5 separate regions of the Homo sapiens genome follow, and regions 2, 3, 4 and 5 are each linked to region 1. Evidence: promoter capture Hi-C in human tissues and cell types (Jung and others, 2019). All regions are on one chromosome and are shown on one strand. The core of a region is centred on a gene start or on the middle of the fragment in contact, and the rest is flanking DNA. Distances in the headings are between cores, read along the strand shown.

Region 1 (3,992 bases), core at 534-3,033:
GATCGTACAATTACACTCCAGCTTGGGCGACAGAGCAAGACTTGGTCTCAAAAAAAAAAATAAATAAATAAATAAATAAAAAGAAGTAATTAATCCTGCAGTTCACCTATGGTATCTGTAATATCCCACCTTGTACTATACACTTCTTTTAGGTGCACTCATGCATTCCTGCAACACGTAATTATTAAGTAACTACTATCGATCTGTACATCCAGAAAATATTTATTGAACACCTATTATACTTTGGACCTGTGCTAGGGGCTAACTATGCTACAATGAATAGACAAACACTGCCCAACCTGATAGAGATTACAGTCTAGTAAGGGAAGACAACAATTTTACACAAGAAATTACTCACAATTATGAGAAATAGGACAAGCGCAGTGGCTCATGCCTGTAATCCTAGAACTTTGGGAGGCTCAGATAGAGAATCGCTTGAGCTCAGGAGTTCGAGACCAGCCTGGTCAACACAGTGAGACCTCGTCTCTACTAAATATTAAAAAAAATTAGCCAGGCCTGGTGGTGCACACCAGTAGTTCCAGCTATTCATGAGGCTGAGGCAGGAAGTTAAGCCCAGGAGTCTGAGGCGGCAGTGAGTTATGACAGTGCCACTGTACTCCAGCCTGGGCAACAGAGTGAGACCCTGTCTCAAAAAAAAAAAAAAAAATTAGGAGAAACGTTACAGAAAGTGTAGGAACTATATTAGAGGATATAACAGACAGGTAAGACTCAATTGCGCCCTGTCACATATGGCACATAATTTAGAATTACTTTTTTTTCTTTTTTTTTTAGAGACAAGGTCCCCCCACCCCAGGGCAGGATGCAGCGGCACGATCATGGCTCACTGCGGCCTCAAACTTCTGGGCTCAAGCAATCCTCCTACCTCAGCCTCCTGAGGAGCTGATACTATAGGTGTGCACCACCACGCCTGGCTTTTTTTTTAAGAGACAGGAGTCTCGCTATGTTGATCATGATGGTCATGAACTCCCGGGCTCAAACTATCCTTCCACCTACAGGTGTGGGCCACTGCTCCTGGCCAGGATTAATTACTTCTTAAATGAACTATGTACCCCAATTTTGAACAATGCAGCTCTGCTGGAAATGTCTGGGACTTAAGTAAAATGTGTAAAGCCATAACCTGATACACACTAGGCCCTCAAGAATAAATGTTAGTTATTTTCACTGGGTGCTGTGCCCCTCCAGAGAGAAACTGATTAGGTTTTGGATACTAATCCCCTAGCTCTAGGCCGCTAAGTAATACCAATCTAATAAGCATTTCAGAAATAAGTATAACAGGAAAGGAAGTAATATGTAATAAAAACATTCTGCATTTGCATCAAGGGTTTCCTCGAGATGTCGAGTATCATTATTCCCAATTTAAAGATGAAGTAACTGAGGCTCGAAAAGAAGAACAGGACCTAACAACATCGTACAGAAGTCCCAGCTCCAGGGCATCTGCTGGTCTTTCTCCACCCCTCCATAACTCTACAACCTTGGTCCAGAACAGGCCTCTGGGCCCCAGACCTCGGAGGGATTGAGCCTTTCCCAGAAGGCTTTGCAGCGCCGCGGAGAACTCTGGGATACAAATGGATACACAAATCCAAAGCAAAAGTCTAGACCTGGGCCCGAGAAACAGCCTCTTAAGCCCCCCAGGTGCCTTCTTCGGCTCGTTTGTGTGCTTACCTTTCCTGGAGCTCCCGCCATCGGGAGCCTCACTAAGCCCCGCAAAGGCTGGGAACAGCGCCATGACCACAGGCCGTACCTCCGTTCTTCTCTATAGGGATGGCGCCGGCGAGCGAGCGCCGGTCTGAGGACCCCTGCCGTCGCGGTGCACTCTGGGAAATGTGGTTTTCGCGGCGCTCTCTGGGGCTTGACCCCGAAGCGGGAGGGGCGGGGCCCAGAGAGGAGGGTCGTCAAGGGACTGGGGCGCGGCGGGGCAGGGAGAGGCAGGGCAAAGCAGGGTGGGGCGGGGCCAAGGGGGGCGGAGCGAGGAGTGACGGGTTCCTAGTGGTTGGGACCCTGTGAGAACCGGAACTGCGAAAACCGGAGAAGGGAATTGTTGACCGCGAAAGGGACTAAGGAAATTGGGATTCCAGTTCGACCCCTAAATTCACACCATCCTTGCTAACTGGGTCAACTTAAACGCTCTAAGCATTACTTTCCTTATCTGCAAAATATTGAGAAGATTAAATGAACATATTTATAAAGGGCCTAGCATTGAGTCCGGCCCATGAAAAGCACTTAATATGTGTTAGCTATTATGTGAATTACGACTGCAAGTTCGGCTCAAAGTCATGTGAGATATCCGAACTTCAATCAGGTTACCATATTAAATACCCCAGAACAAGGAAAAATGGAAAGTCCCATCAAGTTCAAGGGTCTTTGATAGTTAGGAAATACCTGTCTGTGAAGCATTCTTGACCCCGGTTCCTCCCACCCAAAATCTAATCACACTTGCTACCAGAAATATAGAGAGTAAAGGAACAACTTAGAAGACTTTGTACTACCAAGAAACAATTAGCCAAATCTAGAATATGGGAAATTATAGAAAACAACCGTGCTTCCTTAACATATCAAGGGCTTTAAGAGGGCAGGAGATTGTAATAGATACGAAGATCTTACAGACACATCAAGCAAATACAACATATTTGTGGCCTCATTATAATTCTGATTGGACAAACTGTAAAAAGACCTTTTTAAGATAGATGGAGAAATAAGAAGGTAGGCAGAGTACAAGCAATTCACAAGTAATTCTTGTGAATTCTGTTAGATGTACTAAAGTACTTATGTCACTGAGGTGACCCTTATTTATTTATTTTGAGACAAGGTCTCCTTCTGCCACCCAGGCTGGAGTGTAGTGGTACGATCTCTGCTCACTGCAGCTTCGAACTCCTCGATTCAAGCAATCCCCTCACCTCAGCCTCCCAAGTGGCTGGAACCACAGGCATACACCACCATGTCTGGCTTAATTTTTTTTTTTTTAATAGAGACAGGGTTTCACCATGTTGCCCAGGCTGGTCTCGAACTCCTGGGCTCAAGCGATCTGCCCCCCTCTGCCTCCCAAAGTGCTGGGTGCCTGTGCCTGAGCACCCCCCAACCCAGCCTGAGATTACTTTTTAAAGTTCTTATATATTAGAGATATATACTGAAATATTTGCAAGTGAAAATAGATAGGTAAATGAAGATATATTTATTGGGATCCTAGGGAGTTAAAGATCTTTAGTTAGGAAATACATTATAAACCAGAGATGCAAATGTAATCATCTAATCAAGGAATGGATGGACTCTGATGAAGTCTGCAGACCTGCATAAGAATTAGGTTCTATGAGTCCAAAATAGACACCCTTAATGCTTTGAAGTCCCTGGCAGAGTACTTACAAAAAGGAGCTTAGTATGACAATAGGGGCAGTAATTCCTGTATGTCTTCAACTTTAAATCTCAGGTTCTGCCAAAATCTTTGACTCTAAGTTACCTCAATTAATTGGGGCAGCATTTGTCTTTCTTAGCAGATCACTTCAGGTAACTGGGATGGAAATAGTCTATCCCAATGCCTCCTATCTTTCCACCCCAGAAAAGTAAGAATTAATATGGAAGTTTTAAGAAATTAAAACCATAATAATAATGTTTCTGTAATACAAAGGAATCTGGGTATACTAGGTATATTGTGTACTTACAAATGTATAAGAGAATGTTGCTCAAGAGACCCTCCTCATAAGAACAACTGAAAGTGTATAATCAAGTAACTGATACAGACTCCTGGTTTTAAGTTAAAATCTTTTTGTGTTTGTTTTGTTTTTGAGACAAGATCTCCTCTCTCGCCCAGGCTGGAGTGCAGTGGTGCGATCATGGCTCACTCCAGTCTCGACCATCTGCCTCAGCACCCCGAAGTGCTGGGATTATAGGTGTGAGCCACCATGGCCGGCAGTAAATTGAAATCTTAATGAGGTTTAAGCAGTTTCAGGATATCCAAGAGAATCTAAAGCTCGCCATAT
Region 2 (3,992 bases), core at 442-2,941, 740 kb after region 1:
CCAAAAAAAAAAAAAAAAAAGAAGTCTAAAGGCTGTTGGCAGTCATTCTTGAGCATGAATTAACTCAAGAGTTTCCACATTCTTGAAAAAAAAGTTTTTTACGTTGAAATTATTCAACCAAGAGATTAATCAAAATAAAGAAATCAAGGAAGGAATTGAGGATTAAAAAAAATACTGAAGATGAGTTTTGAATTGTTTTAAATACAGAACCAAGAATAAATAGCTGTGGAATTTATGGTTAAAGAACAAAATGTAGGCTAGGCGTGGTGGCTCACGCCTATAATCCCAGCACTTTGGGAGGCCAAGGCGGGTGGATCACGAGGTCAGGAGTTTGAGACCAGCCTGGCCAATATGGTGAAACCCCGTCTCTACTGAAAACGCAAAAATTAGTTGGGCGTGGTGGTGGGTGCCTGTAGTCCCAGCTACTCAGGAGGCTGAGGCAGAAGAATCGCTTGAACCCAGGAGGCAGAGGTTGCAGTCAGCCAAGATCGCGCCACTGCACTCCAGCCTGGTAACAGAGTGAGACTCCATCTCAAAAAAAAAAAAAAGAACAAAATGTAAACATTCCAAACTCTTATACTGTGAACATAATTATACACCTAACAAAAATGGGGAAGTGAGGGGAAAGGGCAGTTGGAAGATTTCTAAGCATGTAAATTTACTCATCTTTAATGGCTGGAAAATAATCCAGTCTAAAAAATGAACTCCAGCCAGGCGTTGGGGCTCATGCCTACAATCCCAGCACTTTAGGAGGCCCAGGCAGGAGGATCGCTTGAGCCCACGAGTTCAAGATCAGCCTGGGCAACCTGGGGAAACCCCTTATCTACTAAAAATACAAAAAACTAACCAGGCATAGTGGCATGCACCTGTAATCCCAGCTACTCGGGAGGCTGAGGCACGAGAATCTCTTGAATGTGGGAGTTGGAGGTTGCAGTGAGCTGAGATCACACCACTGCACTCCAGCGTGAGCAACAGAATGAGACTCTGTCTCAAAAAAAAAAAAAAGAACTCCATGAACTGCAGCTTTTTAAAACAGACACGATTCTAATTTCTTGATGATTTTTGTGTTCGTTTTTTCTTATCTTTAAGGGGATTATTTTAGGAATTTTTGTGGTTTACAAACATTTAGCTGAAGTTCAGCAATTATTTCTATTTTACTTAATTTCTGTTTTCTGTAAAATTAAACTTAATTTTACTTAAAAATAATTTGCAGAATAAAATTCCATTGTTATCTATTGATCTTTTTGCTCTGCATGCCCAAATTCAGATGACATATACCAAATATTGATGGCTGTTTCCAGAAAGTGAGATTTGAGACACCAAAAAAAAAAACAAAAAACAAAACTTCCTCATGGTGCTTTCTAAAGCTTTTTAGAAAAGCTCATTCTATATAAAACTAACAGTCATTGCCAGGTGCGGTGGCTCATGCCTGTAATCCCAGCACTTTGGGAGGCCGAGGCGGGCAGATCACGAGGTCAGGAGATCAAGACCATGGTGAAACCCTGTCTCTACTAAAAATACAAAAAATTAGCTGGGCACGGTGGCGGGCGCCTGTCGTCCCAGCTACTCGGGAGGCTGAGGCATGAGAATGGCATGAACCCGGCAGGCAGAGCTTGCAGTGAGCCAAGATCATGCCACTGCACTCCAGCCTGGGTGACAGCAAAAAAAATAAAAAACATAAAATAAAAATAACAGTCATTTTTCTTGAGTAGTGTGGAATAGAAGGATAAGATGGAAGATGGCTCCCATGCCTTTTGTCACCAGGTGTTACACCCATGATTATGTGATTTATGTGGTGAAAAGGATTTTGCAGATGTCATAAAAGTTAATTACAGGCCAGGTGCAGTGGTTCATGCCTAGCACTTTGAGAGGCTGAGGCGGATGGATTGCCTGAGCTCAGGAGTTCGAGACCAGCCTGGGCAACATGGATAAACCCCATCTCTACTAAAAGTTCAAAAATTAGCCAGGTGTGATGGCACACGCCTGTAGTCCCAGCTACTCAGGAGGATGAGGCACGAGAATTGCTTAAACCTGGGAGGCAGAGGTTGGAGTGAGCCAAGATCGTGCCACTATACTCCAGCCTGGGCGACAGAGTGAGATTCCATCTCAAAAAAATTTTTTAAAAATTAACTCTGTCATCCAGGCTAATGTTTGTGTTTTTAGTAGAGATTTTTGTATTTTTAGTAGAGACAGGGTTTTGCCATATTGGCCAGGCTGGCCTCAAACTCCTGACCTCAAGTGATCCATCCCCGTCGGGATTACAGGTGTGAGCCACCGCTCCTGGCTGCATGAAAAATCTTTAATGCAAAAGGGTTATCTGGTTGCTGGCTTTGAAAATGGAGGGGACCAAGTGGAAAGGCCCTGAGGAGCAGCCTCTAGGAGTTAAGAGCCGCTCCCTTGCCAACAACCAACAAGGAAACAAGGACCTCAGCCCTACACCTTCAAGAACCTGCAAGGCAGAAGGATCACTTGAACCCAGGAGTTCGAGGCTGCAGTGAGCTATGACCGTCTTACTGCATAAGATAAATTGAAGATAAATGAAGTTAGCAAGGCCAAGGTGGGAGAATCGTGTGAGGCCAGGAGTTTAAGACCAGCCCGGGCAATATAGCAAACCCCCATCTCTACAAAAAAATTTAAAAATTGCCTGGCACGGTGGCTCACACCTATAATCCCAGCACCTTGGGAAGTAGAGGTGGGCAGATTGCTTGATCCCAGGAGTTTGAGACCAGGCTGGGCAACATAATGAGACCTCATCTCTACCAAAAAAAAAAAATATATATATATATACACACACACACACACACACACACACACACACACACACACACAGTCAAGCACCTGTATTCCCAGCTACTTGGGAGGCTGAGGTGGGAAGATCACATGAGCCTAGGAGGCCAAGTCTGCAGTGAGCTGTGATTGTGCCATGCACTCCAGCCTGGGCAACTGAGCGATACCCTGTCTCAAAAAAAAAAAAAAAAAAATATATATATATATATATAAACCGAGTGTGATGGCATGTACCTATAGTCCTAGCTACTTAGAAGGCTGAGGTGGGAGGATCACTTGAACCCAGGAGTTCGAGGCTGCAGTGAGCTATGATGTGGTCTCATTGGACTCTAGCCTGGGTGACAGAGTGAGAACCTGACTCAAAAAAACAAAAAAAGAATGAAGGTAACAGCATCTTTGTTCTTCAGACAGATTCTCTCTGACATCTACCTCCCAATTTCTGCCCCATATAATTTTATGGCTAAAAAACATTTACCTTCTATTCTTAACCATAATTAAGTATTCCACAGACTGACCGTAAAACATGAAAATCACTTAAACAGCATTTATTAGGTTGGTGCAAAAGTAATTGTCATTTTTGCCATTGAAAGTAATGGCAAAAACCATATTGCAGTATTCTCTAATATTATTTTCTCTGAAGAGGCAAAATGTTTATAAGAATTGCTCTTCTTGGCTGGACATGGTGGCTCATGCCTGTAATCCCAGCACTTTGGGAGGCTGAGGCTGGCAGATCACCTGAGTTCAGGAGTTCAAGACCAGCCTGACCAACATGGAGAAACCCCATCTCTACTAAAAATACAAAATTAGCCGGGTGTGGTGGCGCATGCCTGTAATCCCAGCTATTCAGGAGGCTGAGGCAGGAGAATTGCTTGAACCCAGGAGGTGGAAGTTGCAGTGAGCCAAGATCGTGCCATTGCACTCCAGCGTGGGCAACAAGAGAGAAACTCCGTCTCAAAAAAAAAAAAAAAAGAAGAATTGCTCTTCTTTTTATCGTACAAACTTCTTTCCCCTTGGATCTTCTATTTGCCTTTCTTGCATTTTTTCTTTATCATGGTTCATTTTACCCTAGTTTCTTTATCCAATTAGGTATTTTGCTGAGTTTTTAAGGCCTCCTCTCTGAGGCTCATCATCCTCCTCCTACAGGGTTGTCACAGTAGCATTTACTTTCATGGCTTTCCAGGGCCAATTGTCTTTTGTATTTAGGG
Region 3 (3,992 bases), core at 997-3,496, 720 kb after region 1:
TAGAGACAGGGTTTCACCATGTTGGCCAGGCTGGTCTCAAACTCCCGACCCCAGGTGATACACCCGCCTCAGCCTCCCAAAGTGCTGGGATTACAGGCGTGAGCCACCGCGCCCAGCCGGCTTGCTTTTGTAAGCTATGTTTGTTTAAAAAAATAAAAATAAAAAAAAAGCAAGTATCTTATTGGAACTAATAGTTATGTTTCTTAAAAGCTAATTACAAATCAAATCATTATTAATGGAACCACATTCAAAAAGCAGCAGGGAACTGTTGTTTTTCAACAGATCCAACATGAATCCTTTGGTAAAACAGGATGATCTTTTAAAGTAAATCATAGGGTCAGGTGTGGTGGCTCATGTCTGTAATTCCAGCCATTTGGGAGGTCGAGGCAGGTGGAGCACGTGAGGTCAGGAGTTCCAGACCAGCCTGGCCAACATAGCGAAACCCCACCTCTACCAAAAAATACAAAAATAAGCTAAGCGTGGCGGTGTGTGGTGGCACACACTTGTAGTCCCAGCTACTTGGGAGGCTGAGGTGGGAGGATCACTTGAACCCAGGAGGCAGTGGTTGCAGTGAGCTGAGATCACGCCATTGCACTCCAGCCTGAGCGACAGAGTGGGACCCTGTCTAAATAAAAATAAATAAATAAATAAATAAATAAATAAATAAATAAATAAAGTAAATCACTAGCCGGGAATGGTGGCTCATACCTGTAATCTCCACACTTTGGGAGGCAGAGATGGGAAGACTGCTTGAGCCCAGGAGTTCAAGACCAGCCTGGGCAACATAGTGAGATTCTGTCTCAATAAAATGAAATTTTAAAATACAACAACAATAAAGTAAATCACCACTCTGGACTTTTTATCATGAAACATCCTTTTATTTTTTTATTTTTTTGAGACAGAGTTTTGCTGTTGTTGCCCAGGCTGGAATGCAATGGTGCGATCGCAGCTCACTGCAACCTCCGCCTCCCAGGTTCAAGCAATTCTCCTGCCTCAGCTTCCAAGTAGCTGGGATTACAGGTGCCCGCCACCGTGCCCAGCTAAGTTTTTGTATTTTTACTAGAGATGGGGTTTCACCATGTTGGCCAGGCTGGTCTCGAACTCCTGACCTCAGGTGATCCACCTGCCTCGGCCTCCCAAAGTGCTGGGATTACAGGCATGAGCCACCATGTCTGGCCGAAAGATTTAAAAAAAAAAGAAAAAGCTCACCCAAACCAACTAGGAATAGAAGAGAACTTTGTCAACCTGAGAAAGAACATCTATGAAAAACTCACAGCTAACTTCATACTCAGTGGTAGAAGACTAAAGCCTTCCCCCTAGGATCGGGAAAAGACAAGGAACTAACTTTGTCTATACCAGAATTTCCATGGAAATGCCACAGAAGAGCTTTAATGCTCGTAAATACTTTGATTATAACTCAGTCCATCACCTTTACTTTATGAATCAAAAAACTTGGGCTCAGAAAGGCAAAATGACTTATCCCAGGTCATATAGCAAATTAGGGGCTGACTTAGAACTACAGTCCACTCCCTACCTCTGTTAAATCTTTACTTAAGGCCAGATGCAGTGGCTCATGCCTGTAATCCCAGCACTTTGGGAGGCCCAGGCAGATGGATCATCTGAGGTAAGGAGTTCAAGACCAGCCTGGCCAACATGGCAAAACCCCATCTCTACTAAAAAAAAAAAAAAAAAAAAAAAAAAAAAAAAATTACCTGGGTATGGTAGTGGGTGCCTGTAATCCCAGCCACTTGGGAGGCTGAGGCAGGAGAATCACTTGAACCCAGGAGGCGGAGGTTATAGTGAGCCGAGATCAGCACCACACTCCAGCCTGGGCAACAGAGTAGACTCGTCTCTTAAAAAAAAAAAAAAAAAAACAGATTTACTTAAGAGATTGTAAATATGGATACCACTAATCAAATAGATAAGATCTTTAGGCAAGCGCGGTGGCTCAAGCCTGTAATCCCAGTACTTTGGGAGGCCAAGGCGGATGGATCATGAGGTCAGGAGATCGAGACCGTCCTGGCTAACACGATGAAACCCCGTCTCTACTAAAAGTACAAAAAAAAAAAAAAGTTAGCTGGGCGTGGTGGCAGGTGCCTGTAGTCCCAGCTACTTGGGAGGCTGAGGCAGGAGAAATGGCGTGAACCCAGGAGGCAGAGCTGGCAGTGAGCAGAGTTCGCGTCACTGTACTCCAGCCTGGGAACAGAGCGAGACTCCATCTCCAAAAAAAAAAAAAAAAAAAAAGCTCTTTAGTTGGTGACAGAACTCAATCAAGAATATTTTGGGGAGACTAGACAGAGGTATCACCAAAAAAGAACACTACAAAGATTTCTTATGGATATAGATACAAATCCTTAATAAAATACAAGCAAACTGAATCCAGCAACAAAGAAAAAGGATTATATACCATGACAAACAAGATTTATCCCAGGAATACAAGGTTGGCTTAACATTCAAAAGTTAATTAATGTAATACACCATATGAACAGAACAAAAAAAATGGTCATCTTAATAGATGCAGAAAAAAGCATCTGACAAAATCCAGCACTCTTTCATGATTTAAAAAAACACCCAAACTAGGAGGAGAAGTGAAATTCTTCAATTTGATAAAATACATCTATGAAAAACCCATAGCTAACCCCATACTCAGTGGTAGAAGACTAAAGCTTTCACCCTAGGATCAGGAATAAGACAAGGATGTCTGCTCTTGCAAGTTCTATTGAACCATAGTGAAGGTTCTGGCCAAGGCAATTAAGCAGGAAATTGAAACAAAAGATATCTGGATTGGAAAGAAAGAAGTAAAATTATCTCTATCCATGGCTAACACAATCTTATAAATAGAAAATCCTAAGGTGTCCACTAAACTATTAGAACCAATAAACTAGTTCACCAAGGTTGCAGGACACAAGGTAAAAACTGTACCTCTATACTCTTGGAATGAACAATCCAAAAATAAAAGTAAGAAACTAGTTCCTTTTACTATAGCATCAAAAAATAAATAAATAATAAAATACTTAGAAATAAATTTAACAAAAGTGCAAATTTATACTCCTTAAACGGAAAAACGTTGTTGAAAGTAATTGAAGACAACCTAAATAAATGGAAAGACATCTCATGTTCATAGATCAGACGACTTAACATTGCTAAGATGGCAACACTGCCAAAGTTTAACTAAAAATTCAATGAGATCCCTATCAGAATGCCACTGAGTTGGCTTCTTTGCAGACACTAACAAGCTGATCCTAGAATCCATATGGAAATACAAGGAATCCAGAATAACCAAAACAATGTTGAAGAATAAGACTCACACTTCTCAATTTCAAAACTTACTAAAAAACTGTAGTAGTCAAGACAGCATGGTACTGCTATAAGGAGAGACATATAGATCACTGGAAGAGAACTGAGAGTATAAAATAAATAAACCCATACATCTATAGTCAACTGATTTTCAATAAGGGTGCCAAGACATTAAAATGGAGAAAAAAATAGTCTTTTCAGCTAATGGTGCTGGAACAATTGGATATTTACATGCAGAAGAATGAGTCTGAATCACTACCTCACATGATATCCAGCAATTACCTTAAAATGGATCAATGATCTAAATGTAACAGCTAAAGCCATAAACTCTTAGAAGAAAACAGAGACATCAATCTTCATAATCTTGAATTAGTCAATGATTTCTTAGACACAAGAATAAAATGAAAAAGAAAAAAAAAAGGTTTCATCAACATTAAAGACTTTTAGGGCCAGGAGCGGTGGCTCACACCTGTAATCCCAACACTTTGGGAGGCTGAGGCAGGTGGATCCCTTGAGGACAGGAGTTCAAGATCAGCCTGGCCAACATGGTGAAACCTCGTCTCTATTGAAAATACAAAAATTAGCCAGGCATGGTGGCACTCGCCTGTAATCCTAGCTACTCAGGGGGCTGAAGCATGAGAATTGCTGGAACCCAGGAGGCAGAGGTTGCAGTGAGGCAAGATCATGCCACTGCA
Region 4 (3,992 bases), core at 530-3,029, 580 kb after region 1:
TACATTTTTGTCCAACACTAGGGGAAAAGTGAAACATATTATGGTGTATCCACTCAATAGTACATTAAGCAGCCATTACAAAATTATGTTTACAGAGAGTTTTCTAATTAGAGAACAAAATGTTTACGACATAAATTTCAGCAAAAACTGAAAAATACAAAATTATATTTCTAGTATGAGTACAACATTATACAAGTAAAAAAGAATAAAACATAATATACCAAAACATTAATAGTATATGTCTCTGCGTGTTATTATTGACTCTTTACCCCATATGCGTATCTTAAACTATAATGAACATGACATTTAGAGTGGGAACAATAAAATGAGTTTCGCTTACAAGATCACGAACCCAATGGCAGGAGTACACAGAGTGGCAAGGAGGCAATGGAGTCCTGAACCTCCCATGTGCCACTGGGGGTACTTCCCCACCATCTTTTCTCTTCTACCCAACCCAGTCCGCATCTCCATCATGAATGCTTCCCTGACAGCCCACCCCCAGGGAACCAAACCTCCTTTGTCCTCCCCCAGCATTCTTCTTACCTAAAAGCACTCAGACATTTGTCAAAACTCCCTGATACTATGAATTTTCATGTATTTATTCCATATCCTCCCAAATGCTATATAAATAAATGTTCTTAGGACAAGGACTTTACCCTCTATTTCTCTTTCTCCTTAGGAGTAAAGAATTATTCAACAAATAGTCCACTGATTAATGAAATCAATTCCCTGCAGTCCGTGGGCCAGTACTTCCCAGTCTTTTACCTGAAATAAGCACCTGCCAGACTTGGAAAGAAAACAGCAGCATGGAAACAAGTGATACCCGTGAAGACAGCATGGAGTAACTTTCCAGTAACTCTGTATTTGATCCCAGTCCAACCTCACAGTAGCATTGAGTCCCAGGCAAGTTACATCCTAGTTTCTTCATCTGTAAAACTGCATATGCTACCACTTATTTTTCAGGGTTCTGAGGATTCCAGAATACAATGTGGGTGACTTCTCAGCACAGAGGCTGGCACACAGCGGTCCCCAGGTGAACGGTGCTGTTGATGTCACTCTATAGTAGTCTGTCTTCCTTTAGCTATGAGACAGGCTGTCACTTCACTTTTGGTGTTACTGAGTTCTTCCTTGATCCACTTAACCTGTGTTTCCCTAGGCCACACCAGCCAGGTCATTAATAATAATAAATTGAGATTATTTGGCTGGTATCCTTATCTGCTTCTGTGGAATCTGTGACTGCACTCAAAAGTCTCACCCACCCAGTAACTCTGGGAGTCGTCCCCAGGGCATGTCTTATGTAAGCTATAAATACTCTTCTTCACTGTCACATAAAGCATCTTTTTTTTTTTTTTTTTTTTTTTTTGGGTGGAGTCTCCCTCTGTTGCCCAGGCTGGAGTACACTGGTGCAATCTTGGCTCACTGCAACCTCCGCCTCCTGAGTTCAAGTGATTCTCCTGCCTCAGTCTCCCGAGTAGCTGGGATTACAGGCACTCGCCACCACGCCCAGCTAATTTTTGTATTTTTAGTAGAGACGAGGTTTCACCATGTTGGCCAGGCTGGTCTCGAACTCCTGACCTCAAGTGATCCACCCTCCTTAGCCTCCCAAAGTGCCAGGATTATAGGCGTGTGAGCCACTGCGGCCGGCCACATGAAGCATCTTATTTCCCTCTTCTGCCCAGTACACTAACCAGGTCTCCTACTACACTGCTGGGAAGCCATCTGAGAGGTGCACACTCCGGCCATTGCTTCTGGGACTGAAGGAAAAAACTTGTTTCTTTTACAAAGTTAGGGGAACCAAAGATGAATGCATGATACTGCAAAGATTTTGCTGAAAAGAGCTTTCTTTTTAATTTATAGCATCTTCTATCTAAAAGTGATAGATATTGCCAAAAATTGCCCTTCCTCTCAATGGCTAAGGCTTCCTTAGTGAACCAAACTGGTCTGCTGGAGGTCCTCACCGCTCTTGTACAGTTAGATTGTTGGTGGAGCTACTAGACTGGCTTGTTAGACGTGCCTGGAAGTGTCTTAAATAAGATTTAAAAGTTACTTAGTATGACTTTTATCGCCAGACCTCTTCCTGTCTCTCTTCCTTTGTACACTTTTTTTTCTGTAGCCCACACAATGCTGTTAAACCTTTACTTCTCCAATCATTCCATGATGGCCCTTAGACTACCTTTCCCTAACAGGGGGAAGATGATAGTGATGGAAGAGAGTGGTAAACTCAGACCTTGGGGGTTCCTTGGAGCCAAGTGGCTGCATGTGACAATAAAACTAAGACACTCAGAAGCAGACTTCAATGCAAGGAATTCCAAAGAGAAAGCTAAACTGAAAAGAGCTAGAGGCAGAGAGCAGCAGTCAGACTATAGAGACAAGATTATCACCCAAAATGATGAGACCTTCTTTGGGAGGCCATGGAGAACCATGAGTACATGAGAAACAGCAGGTGATCCAGAGACCAAAATGTGTGACAGAGTCGTGAACACAGAAAACTACCTTCTTCCTTTCACGGCCCTTTCCAGTATGTATGAGGCTGACCTTTTAGACTCTGGGTTGACTGTAGCAGTAGAGAACTGGCTGGGGTGGTGCACAGAGGTGGCGGCAAAGAATCTACACTGCAGCATCATCAGGGAAACAACAGAGGGCCAGGTCTCCGGTGAGAGACTAAGAAGGCCTGGGAAATGATAGGCAGACTGATGATGTTTCTGATGGACCTTTTCCACAGTTGGAAGAATGATCCCTAGGGTTTTTTTTTTTTTTTTTTTTTTGAGATGGAGTTTCACTCTTTCACAACAGGTTGGAGTGCAGTGGTGCAATCTCGGCTCACTGCAACCTCCGCCCCCAGGGTTCCAACGATTCTCCTGCCTCAGCCTCCTGAGTAGCTGGAATTACAGGCACCCATCACCATGCCCAGCTAATTTTTTAATCTTTAGTAGAGATGGGGTTTTGCCATGTTGGCCAGGCTGGTCTCAAACTCTTGACTTCAGGTGATCCACCTGCCTTGGCCTCCCCAAGTGCTAGGATTACAAGCGTGAGCCACTGCACCTGGCCTATCCCTAGGTTTTTATTCAGGACTCCAAATGCTCCACCCCGCTAGGGAGTGCCTCAGAGCAATTAATAACAAAGTATGATTCACCCCAACAGGTTGTAGAGTGAAGCAGTGCAAAACAAATGAAGAAAGGAAAGAAGATGCAGAGCTGAGGAGTATAAGTGCCAAGGGAAGGGCCATGTCACCCTGTCCTCTCCTTGCCATCCCCTCCTGCTGCTGGACTCTAGTCCGGAGCTGCTGCAATTGCCTCGTGTAGACGAATGTGTAGATGAGTAGCTACTGTGACAAACTTTAAAAAGTTTTTGGTTAACTAGTCAAAAAACCCTGGGAAACATAGATGCTCATATTGGGTACAGAAATACCCAAAATGAGGAAGAAAAGAATAAACCCCCAGCAAACTGAGAATCAAGGAGGCTTTATAAAATATGCCAAGAAAGGATTTTATCATAAAGACCTAAGAAAGCCAAGAAAGATAATACATTTGATTTCTTCTTAAAACAGGGTAAAAAAAAAGATACTTGTAGTTACTCTATACATGACTCCAAAAGCAACATATCTCAAAATTAATTACCTAGACCAAGGGTTGGCAATCTTTTTTGTAAAGGGCTCATGGTAGGCAGACTTTGAAGATGGCCCCAATGATCACTGTATATTTGCATTCACAGCCTCTTACCTGTGGGTTGGACCTAGTGCCTTCCTTATAACCAATACTGGGTACAGAAAGATGATAGGATGTCAATTGCGTGATTAGGTTACAAGGCATCCCATCTTCCTAGTGGACTCTACTGCCTTTCCAGCTCACAGGCTCTGACAAAGAGAGTTGTCAGGTTAGAGCAGCCCACATTGCAAGGAACTGAGAGTGGCCATTGGCGTAAAAGATGTTCTATACAGAAAGGCAATAAAAACTAATGGAAGCCAGGCGCAGTGGCTCATCCTGTAATCCCAG
Region 5 (3,992 bases), core at 877-3,376, 540 kb after region 1:
TAATATTAAGAAAATTTAAAACGTAAATGAAAAAACTGCTTAATGTGGCAAGGAACAAGAATGAAACTAGATTTTTTTTTTTAGTAAAGGGGCAAATTGTATACCAACATATAAATTAAAAGTGTTATGCAATGAGAAACAATAATGGAAACAGCATAATACTACATACTATCCCAGTTTCCTGTGCTCTGAAGAACAGCTGCTATACTAAATACTAACTTGACTTATCTGAAGTATTCAATACTTTCTGATAACCCAAGCAGCATTATATTAATAGTTAGAATACTACTACAAAATGTCCTTCTACCTCTCCCACAAGAAATACACCAGGAAACTTAAGCCTGATGAATAACTACTAAGAATCTTGTCTTTTAATACAAGTCTCCTTCTAGACACAAAATCCTAGCTTTTTGTAATGTGGTTAAAAGGAGTAATGGAAAAGAAATGACTGCCAATAAACATTTCCTATTTTGCACTAGGGTGAAGAAACCAAGACACAAACATTTGGAAGCCACTTTAGTTTCTTATTCCTTTTCACCCTAATAGTAGGAAAATATTAGGCACCTACTTAATTCACAAATTCATGAAACAGGGTGGACAACAGCCTTGTGTAGGGGAAGCATTTGGAATGGTAATCAACTACTTAATTACATAACAGGGAGCTGGGCATACAAAGAAAAGGGCTCAGAAGAAATATCTTGAAAAGTAAGCAATATAGAAGGTGAGGACAGAAGTGAGGCTAATCAAATGTTCTTAGCAAGATGTTGCCCCCCTGAAAATATGCTCCCCCAATAAAACACGTAAATAACTACTCTTAAGGAAAATATTTTCTCTAAAGAATGTCACAATTTGGAGTGAAGTTACTTAACAAAACAGGGAATAAAACCTTTAATGTTGGCTGTAGCAGTTATTTTCTTTGGGTAGATTATACTTAAAATATTTCCTTCATACATACTTCTGTTAAAATTTTTTTTTCCCATTCTTGAGTTTTACAATGTCTCCTATCCAAACTTCAAATTTCATTAGAGCCGGCTACATTTGTTTTAGTGCCAGATACAGGTATCAAGTGATGACAGACACTTACGTGAGGTATACAATCAATTAAAGACTGGAAATTGGGGTATTATCATGTAAGACATTTGAGAGGCCAAAAGTCATATAATTTTAAGATACTTCATGATGTTACAGTAATAATTCATCTATATAACAATTATTTTGACATAAGTGGCATATCAGAATTTAACTTATTTACTTAGATCTTAAGGAATATTAGATGTATTCTCACATGAACACTCAAATCATGCTATTATTATCAGTCACTGGGAGAACAGCCAAAGTAATCAGGCAGTCTAAGGCACATATAGACCCAATAATTTAGAAATTTTCACCATTATGAGGTACCCTGTTTTTAATAAATATGACAATAACAGGCGCTTGAAATGGGGGCAAGGTGAATAAGTATCCAGTCAATTGTATACTTTTATAAAGTAGTGTATTTGAGAACATAAACTGAGATACAAAAGGAATTTCCTTACTTTAAAAAAAGTGACTTCTATCTTAGTAGATTTCTTTAAAATAACTTACCTTATATTTAAAAGTTAGTCATTTACATACTTAAGAAATCAACAGTAATCTAAAAAAATTAAAAGGCAGTTTTCTTGGGTAATGAACCTGTGACTCCAAGACAGACAACAATGTGGAAATTAACTCAGGAGACTGACTTTCTATTCTAGTAATTCAGTGGTTTCTTACTTTATAAAGGTTTGGAAGAATTAATGAATTTCTTTTTTTCTTAAGACAGGGTCTCGCTCTGTTGCCCAGGCTGGAGTGCAGTGGTGTGATCACAGCTCACTGCAGCCTCGAACTCCTGGGCTCAAGCGATCCTCCACATGTTGGCCTCCCATGAGCCACCATGCTCAGCTAATTTTTATTTTTATTTTTGGAGAGACAGTGTCTCACTATGTTGCCCAGGTTGGTCTCTAACTCCTGGTTTCAAGTGATTCTCCAGTCTTATACTCCCAAAGCACAAGGATTACAGGCCTGAGCCACCACACTCAGCCAATCAATTTCAAAATGCTAATTAACCTCTTTCAGACACACGATCTGGCAGAGTAATTAGAAGAAACTGGTCTTTCTTAACATCTTTCCTCTATTATCTTCCTTTTCTTATTCTTGCCTCTCAATTTGTCATATACAGTTACAAAATATATGAATCAGGATTTATGTTGGCATGAAAATTATATGCAATACAATCAGTAAGTGAAGAAGGGAGGGGGTGGTGTGGCTCTAGTCCCAAAGTTAATGTCATAAGGAGAAATAATGTAAGTATTTGTATTTCTTAGATCTTCTTCTATTTTACTCTTAATACCAAAAAAAGAGTCCTATCATTTAACTTTTTATATATTTTGTAGTGTTTATTTTTGATGTGACCAAATGAAAGCTTTCTGAATTTTAAAGTGCAATTCACTGTATGTTAATACACAGCCTGCATAGGACCTAACTGCTTCAAACTTGGCATCAAATGCTGTCTTTTTGGTACTTATAAGTAGGGTGTAGATAAAGATATTTGACAAGAGTGCAACAGTGTTTGTTAAGGTCTTTTCAAAAGCCCATTTGAGATTATTCAGGCAGGCTCATCAGTTGACAGCTAGCCTATCTTTCCTTCTTCCTGTTAGTCTGACTGCCTTTTTACCCATTTCATCGCCTGTCGAATCCTCCTCAAGAAGAGGCAAGGGAAATAAATGAAAATGAAACCCATTAATTTCCAATATTCACAATGAAATCAATCACATCATCAATCTGTATACTGTCTGACCATTTTTCTGGATCATTTTCTATTAGCAACATAGTCCCTTTAGTTTGTACTTTATAACTAGTATTTTCTACCAGGATGCACAGTTTAAAAAATGGCTTGAAGAGCCAAATATGTTCCCAATATGTCCAATATAATTATAAATATGGTCATTTTCTTGATTACTAGAGATCTGTGCCTGATGGAATCACATTTTGTGAATTAGCAATAGTTTGGTAATAATTCACACAAAATTTCCCATAATTACTAGGAATAACTGAAAGCTGGGAGTAGAAAACTTTCATTAACTCAATATTATGTAGCCATTTGGGCCAGCAAAAAGTGTAAAATATTATTCCCAATAACCACTGTGGACAAAATGTGAACAGGATAATATAATATTTTGAAAATATTTTAATATTTGCCATTTTTTGCCTGTGCTATTAATATATACATTGATTTAGTAATAAATATACTACTATTACATAGAGTGCAATATTTTTAGTATTCATAACTGGTTGAAATTAATGCTGCTATAACCTCAAGAAAGGAATAAATAAATATCATGTCCAAATTCCAAACTAATGCTCAAAAGGTTATCATTAACAAAAACTATAAAATAAACATGTTGGGCATTATCTCTTTAAGCATGATTCCTGTAAACAAAGCAAAAAAATCACTTTTCTCAGTCCTGACATTTCACATGATGGCTTTAAAAGAAAATATAACACACAAACCCTATCACTTCTTTTTTTTTTTTTTTTTTTTTTGCATAGGGAACGAATTAATTGTATTTTTAAATGCAGCAATCTTTTAATGAAATGTTTTCATCACATAGTACTTGTTTTCTGTATGAATTCAGAACTTTTGAGCAATAAAAGTGCTCTGCATAAGTTTATAAAATATGCTTTCTGGATTTAAAATTTAACAGAAAAATTTCCAAACAAGTCATAGGTATGATTCTAAAATATTATGTACATAATATATGACTACAGGAGGAAATTCCTCACTGTAGTACAACACAGTGTACAAATATGAAGCACAGTGTTTAGTTTAATTTCCCTTTAGGTTTTCCTCACATTGGTGCATAAGTGGCTGACTACATGACACAACATGCCCCATTCTACTTGTTGCATACAAAGTAGAAGAGGAATGTGAGGACAAATTTAAAGTAGAAAATGAAAATAAATGGCAAAAATAC

What was found. The method cuts DNA at HindIII sites, captures the fragments that hold promoters and counts their contacts. A contact is called where the count stands out against the background at its distance.
Region 2: a fragment that was not itself captured here is called in contact with the fragment with the promoter of NRDE2 in region 1 in 2 of the 25 tissues and cell types used here (dorsolateral prefrontal cortex and mesenchymal stem cells).
Region 3: a fragment that was not itself captured here is called in contact with the fragment with the promoter of NRDE2 in region 1 in 1 of the 25 tissues and cell types used here (hippocampus).
Region 4: a fragment that was not itself captured here is called in contact with the fragment with the promoter of NRDE2 in region 1 in 2 of the 25 tissues and cell types used here (dorsolateral prefrontal cortex and hippocampus).
Region 5: a contact is called between a fragment that was not itself captured here and the fragment with the promoter of NRDE2 in region 1, in 1 of the 25 tissues and cell types used here (dorsolateral prefrontal cortex).

The regions. Positions count from the first base shown.
Region 1 is chr14:90,330,158-90,334,149 of GRCh38, forward strand. NRDE2 (NRDE-2, necessary for RNA interference, domain containing) reads right to left here and starts at 1,784. Exons shown (of 14, transcript NM_017970.4): 1 at 1,684-1,784. The coding sequence starts at 1,747. RefSeq lists an enhancer at 1,538-1,717 and a silencer at 1,868-2,017. The HindIII fragment of the contact is 6,388 bases long and covers 1-3,992 here.
Region 2 is chr14:91,071,333-91,075,324 of GRCh38, forward strand. It overlaps a transcript of DGLUCY not described here. Among named protein-coding and RNA genes, the nearest start is that of RPS6KA5, 13 kb to the left of the region's middle. The HindIII fragment of the contact is 9,066 bases long and covers 1-3,992 here.
Region 3 is chr14:91,050,611-91,054,602 of GRCh38, forward strand. All of the region lies in intron 1 of RPS6KA5 (ribosomal protein S6 kinase A5), which reads right to left. Among named protein-coding and RNA genes, the nearest start is that of RPS6KA5, 8.0 kb to the right of the region's middle. The HindIII fragment of the contact is 3,602 bases long and covers 446-3,992 here.
Region 4 is chr14:90,911,567-90,915,558 of GRCh38, forward strand. All of the region lies in intron 7 of RPS6KA5 (ribosomal protein S6 kinase A5), which reads right to left. Among named protein-coding and RNA genes, the nearest start is that of LINC02321, 85 kb to the left of the region's middle. The HindIII fragment of the contact is 8,995 bases long and covers 1-3,992 here.
Region 5 is chr14:90,867,267-90,871,258 of GRCh38, forward strand. RPS6KA5 (ribosomal protein S6 kinase A5) reads right to left here. Exons shown (of 17, transcript NM_004755.4): 17 at 1-3,992. Among named protein-coding and RNA genes, the nearest start is that of LINC02321, 41 kb to the left of the region's middle. The HindIII fragment of the contact is 3,292 bases long and covers 481-3,772 here.